2 separate regions of the Homo sapiens genome follow, and region 1 is linked to region 2. Evidence: promoter capture Hi-C in 16 types of primary human blood cells and fetal thymus (Javierre and others, 2016). All regions are on one chromosome and are shown on one strand. The core of a region is centred on a gene start or on the middle of the fragment in contact, and the rest is flanking DNA. Distances in the headings are between cores, read along the strand shown.

Region 1 (5,698 bases), core at 2,702-5,201, 180 kb after region 2:
TGTTGCATTTCTGGCTGCGTATTATTGACAGAGGAAATGCTGATTCATGGGTCTGAGTTATAGGAAACCTTGTTTCCTGGTGGAGAAACAAGCCCGGTGGTGCTGCCAGCATCCTCCTCTGCCAGTTTCTGCCACATGGCCCTGCTTCTGGGCCTGCACCCAGGCGGGCTGTGAAGCAGTAAGGCCAACTCAAGCGCGACCAATGAGGTCACTTTCCCTGGTGAACTGAACTAAGCTGAGACTCCTCTAGGGCCTCTGGAGGCTCTTCAGCTCTGATCTCACGATACCTTTCCAGCCCATCTCCAGCTGCTCCCTCTGGCTCCCCATGCTGCTGTCATACATGGCTACTCCCAGTTCTTTGTGAACACCTTGTATTTTCCAGTCTCTATGCCCTGGCTCATGGTGTTCCCTGCCTGGAATGGCCCCTGACCAAGTGTCGGCTCATTGAAATCCTACCCATGCTTCAACTCTGCTAAATTGCTTCTCGCTATGTGAAGCCTGCTAGATTTCCTTGTATTTTTTCCTTTCTTCCTTTCTTGCTTTTTTTTTTTGTAGGGGATTTTCAAATATACACATAAATAGACAGAATTATCTGATGAACTTCCATGTACCCTCGCCCAGCTTCAACAATTCTGATTCTTCTTGAACAGCACTTGTTCTTTCCTTCTTTGAGCTTCCTCAGCAGCTCTCATGTTCTGTGCATAACCCATAATTGCTGAATTGAGTGGGAAGAAGGTGACTCTGTGGATTTAGGGCGCTCCTTTTAGCCACCCCCCACAATAAGGAAACTGAGGCCCAGAGAAGTGAAGTGAGTTGCCCGATGTTATAAGACAGGTGGTGGCAAATTGAGATCAGATTCTTTTGAAGGGCCTCACAATCTAATTAGAAAGCATGGATAACATACTTATAACATGTATATGTTAGCAGATCTCAAGTACTACAGGGGCTCAAGTTATTAGTAAGTGTGTGTTGAATGAATAAATTAAACTTCCATTCAATTGATTAATGAGATGACCTCTTAAGCTTGGCACTGAGTAGTCCACTGGTCCTCTCCATTCTATCATCTGACATCAACATGCTGAAGGAGATTCCTGACTTCTGTGGAGAAAAATCCTATACAATTATAATGGCCAGTATGAGTTAGTGAGAAGTTTAAACTGGTAAATATTCAAAAATAAATTTTGTTTTCTTACTACATGGAGTAGAGAGTAGGCATTTTGTATCTGAAGAACCTAAATACTCAGAGTTAATTCTTACTGGAAAGGTAAGAATATAAATTAAGGGAGTCTGAAGTTCTGTGGCTTGAAGCACTTGTACATTTGATGACTTGGGAAAAAGACATAAAAAGTATGGCAAGATAAAGCAAGACATAAAAAGCCAGTCCTGGGATAATGGCAATTTTTCATCTTGATCCAGACCTATCTCAAACCTGGATCTTAGAAGTACGGCAAGGGGTCATTTGGATGTCCAGCCTGAGGTGCCCTGACTTTACTCTGTAGCCATGGGAACACAGATCCGGTCATCAGGCAAGCACCAAAGCTGTTGCCAGTGGGACAGGGTGGTGGATAGAAAATGTGTGTGACTTTTCTTCATAAAAGTGAGTTAAGACACAATTTGAGATTCTTTTTTTTTTTTTTTTTTTTTTTTTGAGACAGAGTCTCGCTCTGTCGCCCAGGCTGGAGTGCAGTGGCGCAATCTCAGCTCATTGCAAGCTCCGCCTCTTGGGTTCACGCCATTCTTCTGCCTCAGCCTCCCCAGTAGCTGGGACTACAGGTGCCCGCCACCATGCCCGGCTAATTTTTTGTATTTTTAGTAGAGAAGGGGTTTCACCGTGTTAGCCAGGCTGTTCTCAATCTCCTGACCTCGTGATCGGCCCAAAAAAGATGGCCTGAATCAGAGTCTTTCTGCAGGTTATGCAGAAGCAGCGCGTAATCACTGTATGCCTTGGCAGGTGTCGCACCCAGGCATCCACCAGGCATTCTGACAGCTCTGTCCCATGAGCTCATCTGAAGGATGGTGGTGGTCACCTCAATGCCTAGGTCACAGGGTGGTTCTGAGGTTCACCAAAGTAAAGGATGAGAGAATGATTTGTAACCTGCGAAGTGCCTCGTTAAGGTCCTGACAGCTTCATATCTGCTGTTCTTATTAGGGATAGCTAGTGGTACCTGCCAACATCAGAGACATTGCCCTGAAGGCGAGAGAGGATACAAAGAGGAGTTCTTAGAACTAGGGGTTGCATTTCCCATTTTAGTGTGGGCCAGAGACCCGGGTAAGGAGAGCACTGGGGACATTCCTGGAACTTTTGTCCCTTCCCTACACTCATCACTTTCTGTTGGTATCCCTGTGCAGATGATCATAAAATGTATCAAAATAAAACTTGCCCTAGGTGCCAGTTTTAGGGGCAGCAAGTTGAAGGGTGGGTACTTGCGAGGACATGGGGTGGTGAGAAGTGTTTTGCATTCTGTAGGCAGCCTGCAATTATGAAGAGAGAAAAATGGGTAGAATTTTAAACTTTGTGGGGGAAAAAGAGGATTTTAGGAGTACAGGGCAGAAGGATGGAATGTGCCCCTGAATTGGGCTGGTGGGGAGTCCTTTCATGTACAGGAAGGAATAAAATACTGCTAAAAGGAGATTTATGACATTCACTACAGTCAGATAGGATAGTAGATGACAGTTTGCTCTCTAAAATCCGTAAGGACACATTTCCTCCTAGGGAAAAGTATCCTTCCTCCCACCGCACCTGGCACAGGCATACACATCTATTTATTTCCTTAATAAAGTATTTCTTCAAGGAGATTAGATAGGTAAGTGCGTCCTAGCACTAAGTAACCATTACTCATCCCAAATGTGGTCTTCAGTACAATAAACCTTAATTAAACACCATAAAGGGACAGGATACTTGTTCAGGCCTCTAGGGGACACAAATTGGAACAGAACTTGAGCCCTCAACATGTCTATAGCTTAGCAAACTCATGTGGCTCAGAGCCTTCACAACAAAGCAGGAAAGGCAAGGCCTCCCTTTTCACCTACAAAGGATTCATCTTCTTCTATACCCTCTTTGTTACAGGACAGTAATGCTTCCAAGCTAGAGGCATTCAAGGAGTGGCCCAGAGAACATGTCATTCAGGGCCTGGAAGATTTCCATCAGCATTCAGGTAAAGGCCTTGGCCCCTGGAGCCTGTCTCACCAGGAGGGAGCCCGGCAGGAAAAAAACAGTTGGGTTGTACTGAGCTGATCTCATTAGTGCTAGGGTTAATCCTGAGGTTAATGTATATTCGTTAGATTTTTTTTGTTTGTTTCCTGGTGAAATATTTCCATCCCTAAGCTGAGTTACTCTGTAAACTTCGGCATGGATTTAGCTGCATTCTCACTGAAATGCAGTGCCAGTCAGTGTACAAAAAAAAGCCCTAAGATCTTCCTTTAAAAGGGCTATATTTGAGTGTTCAGGTCAGATAATAAGGCCCAGAGAAGGTACAGAAGAAATGAAGAGTCTGCACTTATGTGCCTGTAAATGTTTAACAAATGGCTCTGTGGGGTGAAGGGGAAGCCCTGTTTGTAGTATTTGCTGATTTCTGCTGTGTAAATACTCCCACTGTGCCTGATTTCAAGCTACCAATACGATGCTCACTGAATGTGGAGCTAGGAAGAGATGCCAGGGTCAGCTCTTGTGAGCTGGTACCTGTTGGCTCCCGTACACCGCTAGCCAGCAGTCAGAACAGACACAACGAGAACACACTTGGAGGAGAGGAGGAGTTGGAACTCAGATGAGGAGGTTAGGTAGGTGTGATGGTGAATGTGGGAGTGTCAGCAGCACACGAAGATAAGCAAGAGGTGGACAGGCTGAGCGGCAGCCAGCATCAAGCCAGCCATAATAAATGGTCATCCTAAGAAAGACAGCTACTATTCACTGAGCAATGCTATGTGTCAAGAATTCAGTCTGCTTTGTGATGTATTCTCACAGTATCTCTGCAAGGGTAATTTTATTCCTATTTAACAAATGAGGAAATTGAGGCCTAGAGAGATAAAGCAACTAGTCATGTAAGAAGTGGTTAGGTAAGAGTGCAAACCTGCTGTTTGTTTCCACTCTACCATCAAGCTAGGGGGAGGCTGGGAATAAGTCCTGTTCCTAGACAGGCAGGCTATGGAGCTGTTGGTGGTAGACTTTAATTCCAACAGTTTTGTAGGAATGAGGACCCTGGGTGGATTATGAAATCAGAGATAAGATGAGTCACTGGACCCAGGGTGCAAGGTCAGAAAGGGACAAACTTGATGCTGGGTCACCTGACTGCTAAATGTCCTCTCACTGAAGACAATAAAAGCCCTCAATCCTGGAGTGGAGCAGAGAATTAAGTTGAGAACTCTTGCAGTGTCAACCACGCAAGGTATCAGTGACCAAGTCCTTGTGGATGCAGTTGGGACTTCTGAGGAAATACCCTATATAGGATAACTATGGATATCTATGTTTTATATCAATAGGGGTCTACAGTCCTACAGAGCTGTAATACAGCCTACGGAAACGAGTTTGAAAATGGAAAACTATGCTGAATAAACTGCTTATGACCCAACATCATTCCAAAGCAGAGTTGAGACTATGGTATAGCCGTGCACAGTGTAAGGCATGAAGGTTGGACGAGGATCCAGGTGAGTTAGGTAATGGAAGAGGGATGTGACAAAGCGTGCAGAACCGAAAGCCTCAGGATGAGATGAAGAAGGAGTGAAGGAAGCCTGGGAATTATATTAAAGAAAACTAGAGGAAAACCACCTTTCAGGTAGAGGGTCAAGAAGGCCCAGGACTAAGAAGAGCCTGAAAGGTCTCCAGGGAATGTGACACTGGTGCAAAAGGGAAATGGAGTAATAATAAGTGGCTGATAAATCAGATTAAACTTTGCTGGTATTTGCTATCTGTAGATAGCTTATGTTCCTGAAGTTCCTTTCCTGAGTAGCAGAGTTTAATGGTGTCTCTTAACTGTCAGTATTCTGTGTGAGCATTGAGAGTTGAAAGATAGAATTACAGTGACACAAGGTGGGGAATTTATTATTCAAAGAAAAACCAGATTGAAGTGGGATGTTGTGGTTGTAGATGCCCTGTCTATGAAGGACAAATCTCCCTTTTCATTCTGGAGTGCAGTAGCCAAAATCTGTGCCATTACATGAGTGAGCCCTTTACTACAACAACCTTATGAGATAAGGTCTCCTATTCTTCCCATTTTAAATTACAGAGAAGGAAAGTTTACCCTGCTAAGAAATGGCAGAATTAGGATTTGAACCTCATATACCCTTTAGAACCTGAACCTATATTATTAGGGCAAACCATATAAAATTTTCTGGGTTTTTTAGTATTTTATATTGGATGTCGGTAATTCCCAATCACATTATTTTGACCCTCAGTGTACTGAGAATACCATAGAAGTAAACAGATTTTGCTGTTTCAAGAAGCAGAATAGTCAGTTTCAGCTGCAACACAGTGTCTTGTCTTTTGTCACTTGTGATGCTAGTGGTGGGAATAGAACTTTTTAAGGAGCAGAGAGGATAAACTTGTGAGATTTTCAAGCATGTGGAAGTGACTTGAATGGATTCCCTTTAGGCAATGGACACCTGGATAGAGATCCAGGAAGAGACCACCCAGACGGTGAGCTACTTGAAGAGCCAGCATGGTTTCTGGCAGACAGTGTTGGTTAATAAACAGTGAACACTGAAC
Region 2 (5,768 bases), core at 788-3,287:
TGTTACTATGACTAGGTCCTACACTTATAACACAAAAATACCACACATAGTAAGTTCAGGTTTGTTTTTGCCTTAAGTCTTCTTGAGGGAATATAAGGAGGTTCAAGAAAGAGGAGACAGAACATTCCCCAGACAGAAACAAAGGGGAAGGGCCCTTGGGCCATCAGGGCAGCATGTGCTAAGACACAGAGGCTGCAAGAGAGTGGGACCAGGGACACACTCAGAGTAGCAAGCACAGAGCATGACTGGCAGGGGACAGCCATAGCAAATCCTGGAAACAGAGGTGAGGTCAGACGAGAGCAGGGCAAGGTGGGCACGGTGAGGGATTCTGCCCACAGGCTACGGGAGGCAGTGAGTGAGAAGGCAAGAAGCCAGCTGGGAAGCCGAAGGACAAATGCCTTCCCAGACACCTTAAATAAAAGCAGAGTCAGGGAGCGCGGAAGCCCACGCCAGGGAGAGCAGGAAGATAGTTAAGTGTCTTACACTCATTGCCATTTACAAAATGGTTCTCCTTAATTTTCTTCAAACAAGGCTATGCATATATTGGTGTCTGGAAATGAAATTAATTAGTAAATCAAATCAATACATTCTTATTGGCCAAGCATCACTCACGATCCCTTCTGACTTCATCCTAAAAGTGGACCCAACCAACAACCCCCTATGTTGCTTCACAAGTAATTTCTGACCAGTCAGGCACAGATGCCATGCAAAAGACAAGGCCTCAAGGTGCCATTATCTGTCAAATGGACCCAAGGCAGGATGAGGCTGAATGAAAGAGGAGGAAGAGGAAGAAAGGCTCACTCAGGGGGAGAGGGGAAGCTGCTGCAAGCTAACTACTGCTCTCACTGACTCAGGATGCCCATTTCTCACAACCAGAGGCCACAGTTTTGGAGCAGACAAGAGACTGCAGAGAGGCTTGCTGAAGCTCACTCCACGGCTGGATTCCTGGCAGGATGAGAAATGGAGTTCTAGTAAACTAGAAGGAATGCTGCTGGCAGGAGACAGACCTCTCGAGAGGGCTTTAAATGGAAATATGAGAGCACGAGAGGAACTCTAAGTGTAGAAAATGCACTGGGCAAACAAGCGTGTCGCAGATGTGGGCGCCCCAGAAGGGAAGGAGCTCTGGAGTCACAGGGGACCCAAAGGACAGAATGTCAGGTGGCCCTCCAAGCCCGCAGGTGGCAATGGGAACAAGGCGGGAAATGAACTGGAGAGCTGAAGGCGGGGGCCTAGGAGGAGGCCGCAGAGCTGTGATGAAGGGCTGCTCATCAGAGGCACATGCACGGGTCAGATAAAGAAGCTCCGCTGCGAAGACAGGGGGCAATGCAAGGCCACAGCCGAAGATTCCATGCATGCTCTTCACGGTGGCAAATTCAAAAGCCTTGGAGGGCAGCATGCTTCTATGATAATAGGGAATGGGGGCCGGGGGGAATATGTAGACCCCATATCAATGCTCTCAAAACCTCTCTCTCTCTCTCTCTCTCTGTCTCTCTCCCTCCCTCTCTCTTGCTCACTCTCTCTCTCTCTCTCTCTCTCTCTCTGTCTCTCTCCCTCCCTCTCTCTTGCTCACTCTCTCTCTCTCTCTTTGTCGTGCTCTCTCTCTCCCTCTCTCTCCCACTCCCCACCTCTGGCCTAATATACCTGCATGTCCACAGAGGCACCAATCTGCAATGATGATGGACTCTCTCACCCACCCTGCTACTAGGAAACTTCTTCCATATATCATAAACAGAGACCAGTATTACAATACTTCACCCACTGCGCCAATTTGGCTTTCATGTCTGTTTCCTGTGTCGATCACAACATCCTAGACAGCCCAAACAAGGCTTTATTCACCTCTAGTCCCCGGTCCCTGGAACAGCAGACAATAAATAAGGAATCAACAAGTGTCCTTCACTGCCGCACACATTGGCTGTGAATATCCTTTTGCAAAGTGCAGAACATCTGAAAGATTCTCACATTGACTAAACAACAGTGTGACCTGAAGTTAAGAGAACCATAAAGGTAAATGATTGCTAGAAGTTTAATTCCAAACAAGGAAGAGCAATTTGATGCAATGGGCAGAAGACAAACATTGGGAGAATGAGAACGTATCCTCTTGAGTTGTGATGTGAACAAACAGAGATTCCAAGATCTTGCAAAAGCGAACAGTCAGCAACCAGCATGGTGCTTAGAGTAGTCCCTGGGCAACAGAAAAAAAACAGATAAATGAAGAAACATGGACAATCACCCTACCTGGGTCTCAGCGTGAGGAGGAGAACTAGGACTTCCAGACAGAAAAGAGGAGAAGCATGAGGAGGGGGCTGGGAAAGACATTTCCCTGTGGGCATGTGGTGCCCTCCACTGGGGCCAGAATTCCCAACCTGCCTCACTCTCCCCATCTGTGAAATTGGCTGATTCCCTGAGGTCCCTCCCAGCACTGACTATCAAGTGACAGAGAACCTAGAAACTCCAGGAGCTCCATCAGAGCCCTGACTACCTGTCCAAGTGAGACTGTGGGAGCCTCACTCTTCTCACACCTGTAAACTGAGGGTGCTGCAGTGTCAGCTATATCAACACTCCCAAGTATGCCTTTGCCAAAACCTCTATGGATGAGAAAGGAAAAGAGCATGTATGGAATTGGCCAGGGCTTAGAACCATCTTGAACATGACACACTTATGCACATCGTCACATCTTCCCAGCATCCCTGTCCCACCTCGGGCAGCAACTGTCAAAGTTCTGCCCCCAGGATGACCTCCCAGAGTCCTCAGGGCAGCTCCATCTCTCCAGCCCTCATTCCTTTCCAGCTCTTTGGTGTTTCCCTGTAATAAAAACACTGTGCACTTCTCTTTTCATGTTTTAACCATGAAGTGCCTTCCTCCAGACAAGTACTTTAATCCTTACTCCAGTCAGAATAGGTAACATCAGCATAATTACCATCATTACTCCCATTTTACAGAGGAGAGGGCTGAGGCTCACGTAAGACCTAATCTTCATCTTCCCAGGGATCCTCCAACTCCTAGCCAGGCCTCTCCCAGCTCCTAAATCAATCATGAAAGACTACAGCAATCACATCCAGTACTTTTCTGATCTAGTGTCTTTGCCGCTAAATAAAGGCAGAAATCAAGGTGGCAGGATCAATCCTGTATTCAAATCACTGTACTGTCTGCCACCCTCCTATGCTGGTCCAGGGAGCAGAACTGAAAATGTGCCTCAAGGCCCCAATCCAAAACAGATGCCATCACCCTGGACAGATTCTCCAACCATGCTCCAAGACTGGTATCCATCTCACTTCAACCAGCCCTCCTTCCCAGGCCTGGGTCTGTCTACTGGCACAGGGGGACCCTGCCATGAAAATGAGGGCATCTCTACTGGATTGCAGGCGATCCCCTCGCTGGGCTGGCCCACCCATTCAACCATCACTGGACCACCCCCAGGCCTGCTACCCCTTCAGACACTCAGCCTCATACTGCCTAGCTCTTTCTACCAGGTCTCTCCCTCAGATCAATTCCACCTCAGCCCCAAACTTGCCATCTCCTAAGCAGATTTATACTTCTTCCCAATTTCTATCCTTCCTCTAGCTCATTACTGCTTTCCTGTTGCTTAAGCTAAGTCTATTTCAAATTATAGCTCAGAGAGGGCAGGTGACTTGTTCAAGACTACACAGCCATTTAGTGGCAAAGCTGGGGCTTGAACCCAGCTCTCCCAATTCTAAGCCTTGTGTTTTTCCACTAAATCTCAGCTGTCTCTCTCTATCATACTGCTCAAGAAGCCACTGGTGCATGAGAGGGTGCAGACCACATCTTATTCTCTTTAGTAATGTGTACACTAAGGGCCAGGTATATGTTCAGTGACTTCTTGCAGTCCTAGGAGGTATGACTGTCTTTGTTTACAGATGAGAAAATGTTTTCAGACTACTGCACTGCTATACCACTAGTCTAAATACAGTTGTGAACACACAGCACTGGTCAATAAATGTGGGTTAACTGATTTTTTTTTTTTTAATTAGCTGAAGAGAGCCTAATGGAAAGACCTGAAAAACAAGTTTGTGGCCAGATCAGGCAAAGGGGGTAAGATCCAGTTATCATTCTGCAGTAGAACTAAACATAATATTGTTGCAGGACAATCTCTGATGGCAATGTGAAGCAGTCTGTGAGTCGGGGTGCCTGATTTTGACTCTACCTGACCTGACAGTGTGTGTGACTCTAGGCAAATCTTTTCTATTTCCAGGCCTCATTTCCCCATCTTCAAAAACTCTTTTTTAAATTTATTTATTTATTTTTTTTACAAAAGAAAGAAAGCAAGAAATCCCAGAAGTTGAACTAGATCATAGGTTCTCTTCAACATTAGTAGCACCTGTGAGCTTCTTAGAAATGAAAATTCAGGGGTCCCGCCTGATTTACAGCATCAGAACCTCTGAGACGGGGCCCAGTAAACTCTCCAGGATGACCCTAATGTTCCTTCGAGTTTGAGAACCATTAGACTAGATGACCTTTATGATCCTTCCAGCTCTATCACTCTGAGAACCTTATGCTTTCTCAATTCAACAGCATCAACTCCTCCCAATTTTGCCATTCTGATTTTGATCTGGCATGAACTTGGGTCATCTGGCTCTCTCATCTGGTCATGTCTGATGCTTCCTCCTGTGATTAATAGAAAAGGCCCCAAGAAACAGACAGTATACTCCACTGCACTTATTTTTTCCATTTACCACCTCAGTGGTATGCATTCTGTCACTATATTTAAAAAAAAAAAAATTAACATGTACAAAAAAGCCCAACTATGAGCACAGTGGCATCCTGGTACTATCCTTTTAAAAATTGGAAAAGGAGTTTACTCCTGAGGCAAGTCAGTAAGGAACTGCTGTATTATCTGAAAAATAGGACCTTTCTGAGCCCAGTGATCTCTTTTTAGTATAAAGCCAGTTGAAGGAATAAGAGAGCATTTGCATTCTACACCAGAAATACTCGTAGATTAGCAAACCTTTTCTTTCTTGGTCCTTACATATCAAAACAAACAAACAAATCCAGATCGACCTTACAAGTATAAAAACACATCCCAATGAGTACTATTTTCTCTGTGTTAACTATCAACAAATGGACTGTTTACTGCTGAAATAGTGCCTGAAACTTTATTGTGAAATGAATGAATGTGCACCTTCTCAGTGCCAGCATGGGAGATGTAAAGATAAGCAAGTTAAAATTCTACTCTAGGTGGGGCGTGGTGGCTCACGCCTGTAATCCCAGCACTTTGGGAGGCCAAGCAGGCGGCTCACTTGAGGTCAGGGGTTTCACACCAGCCTGGGCAACATGGCAAAATGTCATCTCTACTAAAAATACAAAGAAAACTAGCCAGGCATGGTGGGAGGCACCTGTAATCCCAGCTACTTGGGAGGCTGAGGTAGGAGAATCGCCTGAACCCAGGAGGTGGAGTTGCAGTGAGCCAAGAACCCACGACTGCACTCCAGGCTGAGCGACAGAGCGAGACTCTGACTCAAAAAATATAAAATAAAATAAAATTCTACTCTAAAGAAACTAAATTTGAGTCTAGTGTCAGCAGTGTCAAACCTGTCCATCCATCCAACAAATGTTCACTGTTTGCCAAGTTCCAGGCAGACGAGAAGGTCCTAAAGAAGTAAAAGCCCAAAATAAGACGAGCATATTGATAACTACAAGAGAAGGTAAGAAGTGATCAGTGCCATGCAAGCAGTACAGACAAAGGGCCATGGAACCATAAGAGGAAGTGATGATTTCCTGCTTAGGGGGGATGGGCAGAAATCAAGGCATGC

Evidence for each region. Contacts are between HindIII fragments. The CHiCAGO score rates a contact against its expected background, and 5 or more counts as called.
Region 1: a fragment that was not itself captured here is called in contact with the fragment with the promoter of FLJ42393 in region 2 in 1 of 17 cell types (fetal thymus); the score reaches 5.4 in fetal thymus.

What each region holds. Positions count from the first base shown.
Region 1 is chr3:188,001,358-188,007,055 of GRCh38, reverse strand. LOC107986166 (a long non-coding RNA gene) reads left to right here. Exons shown (of 5, transcript XR_001741061.2): 3 at 3,068-3,155; 4 at 4,477-4,641. Among named protein-coding and RNA genes, the nearest start is that of LINC01991, 28 kb to the right of the region's middle. The HindIII fragment of the contact is 5,852 bases long and covers 1,026-5,698 here.
Region 2 is chr3:188,174,812-188,180,579 of GRCh38, reverse strand. FLJ42393 (a long non-coding RNA gene) reads right to left here and starts at 2,037. Exons shown (of 1, transcript NR_024413.1): 1 at 1-2,037. All of the region lies in intron 1 of LPP (LIM domain containing preferred translocation partner in lipoma), which reads right to left. RefSeq lists an enhancer at 661-1,273. The HindIII fragment of the contact is 11,595 bases long and covers 1-5,768 here.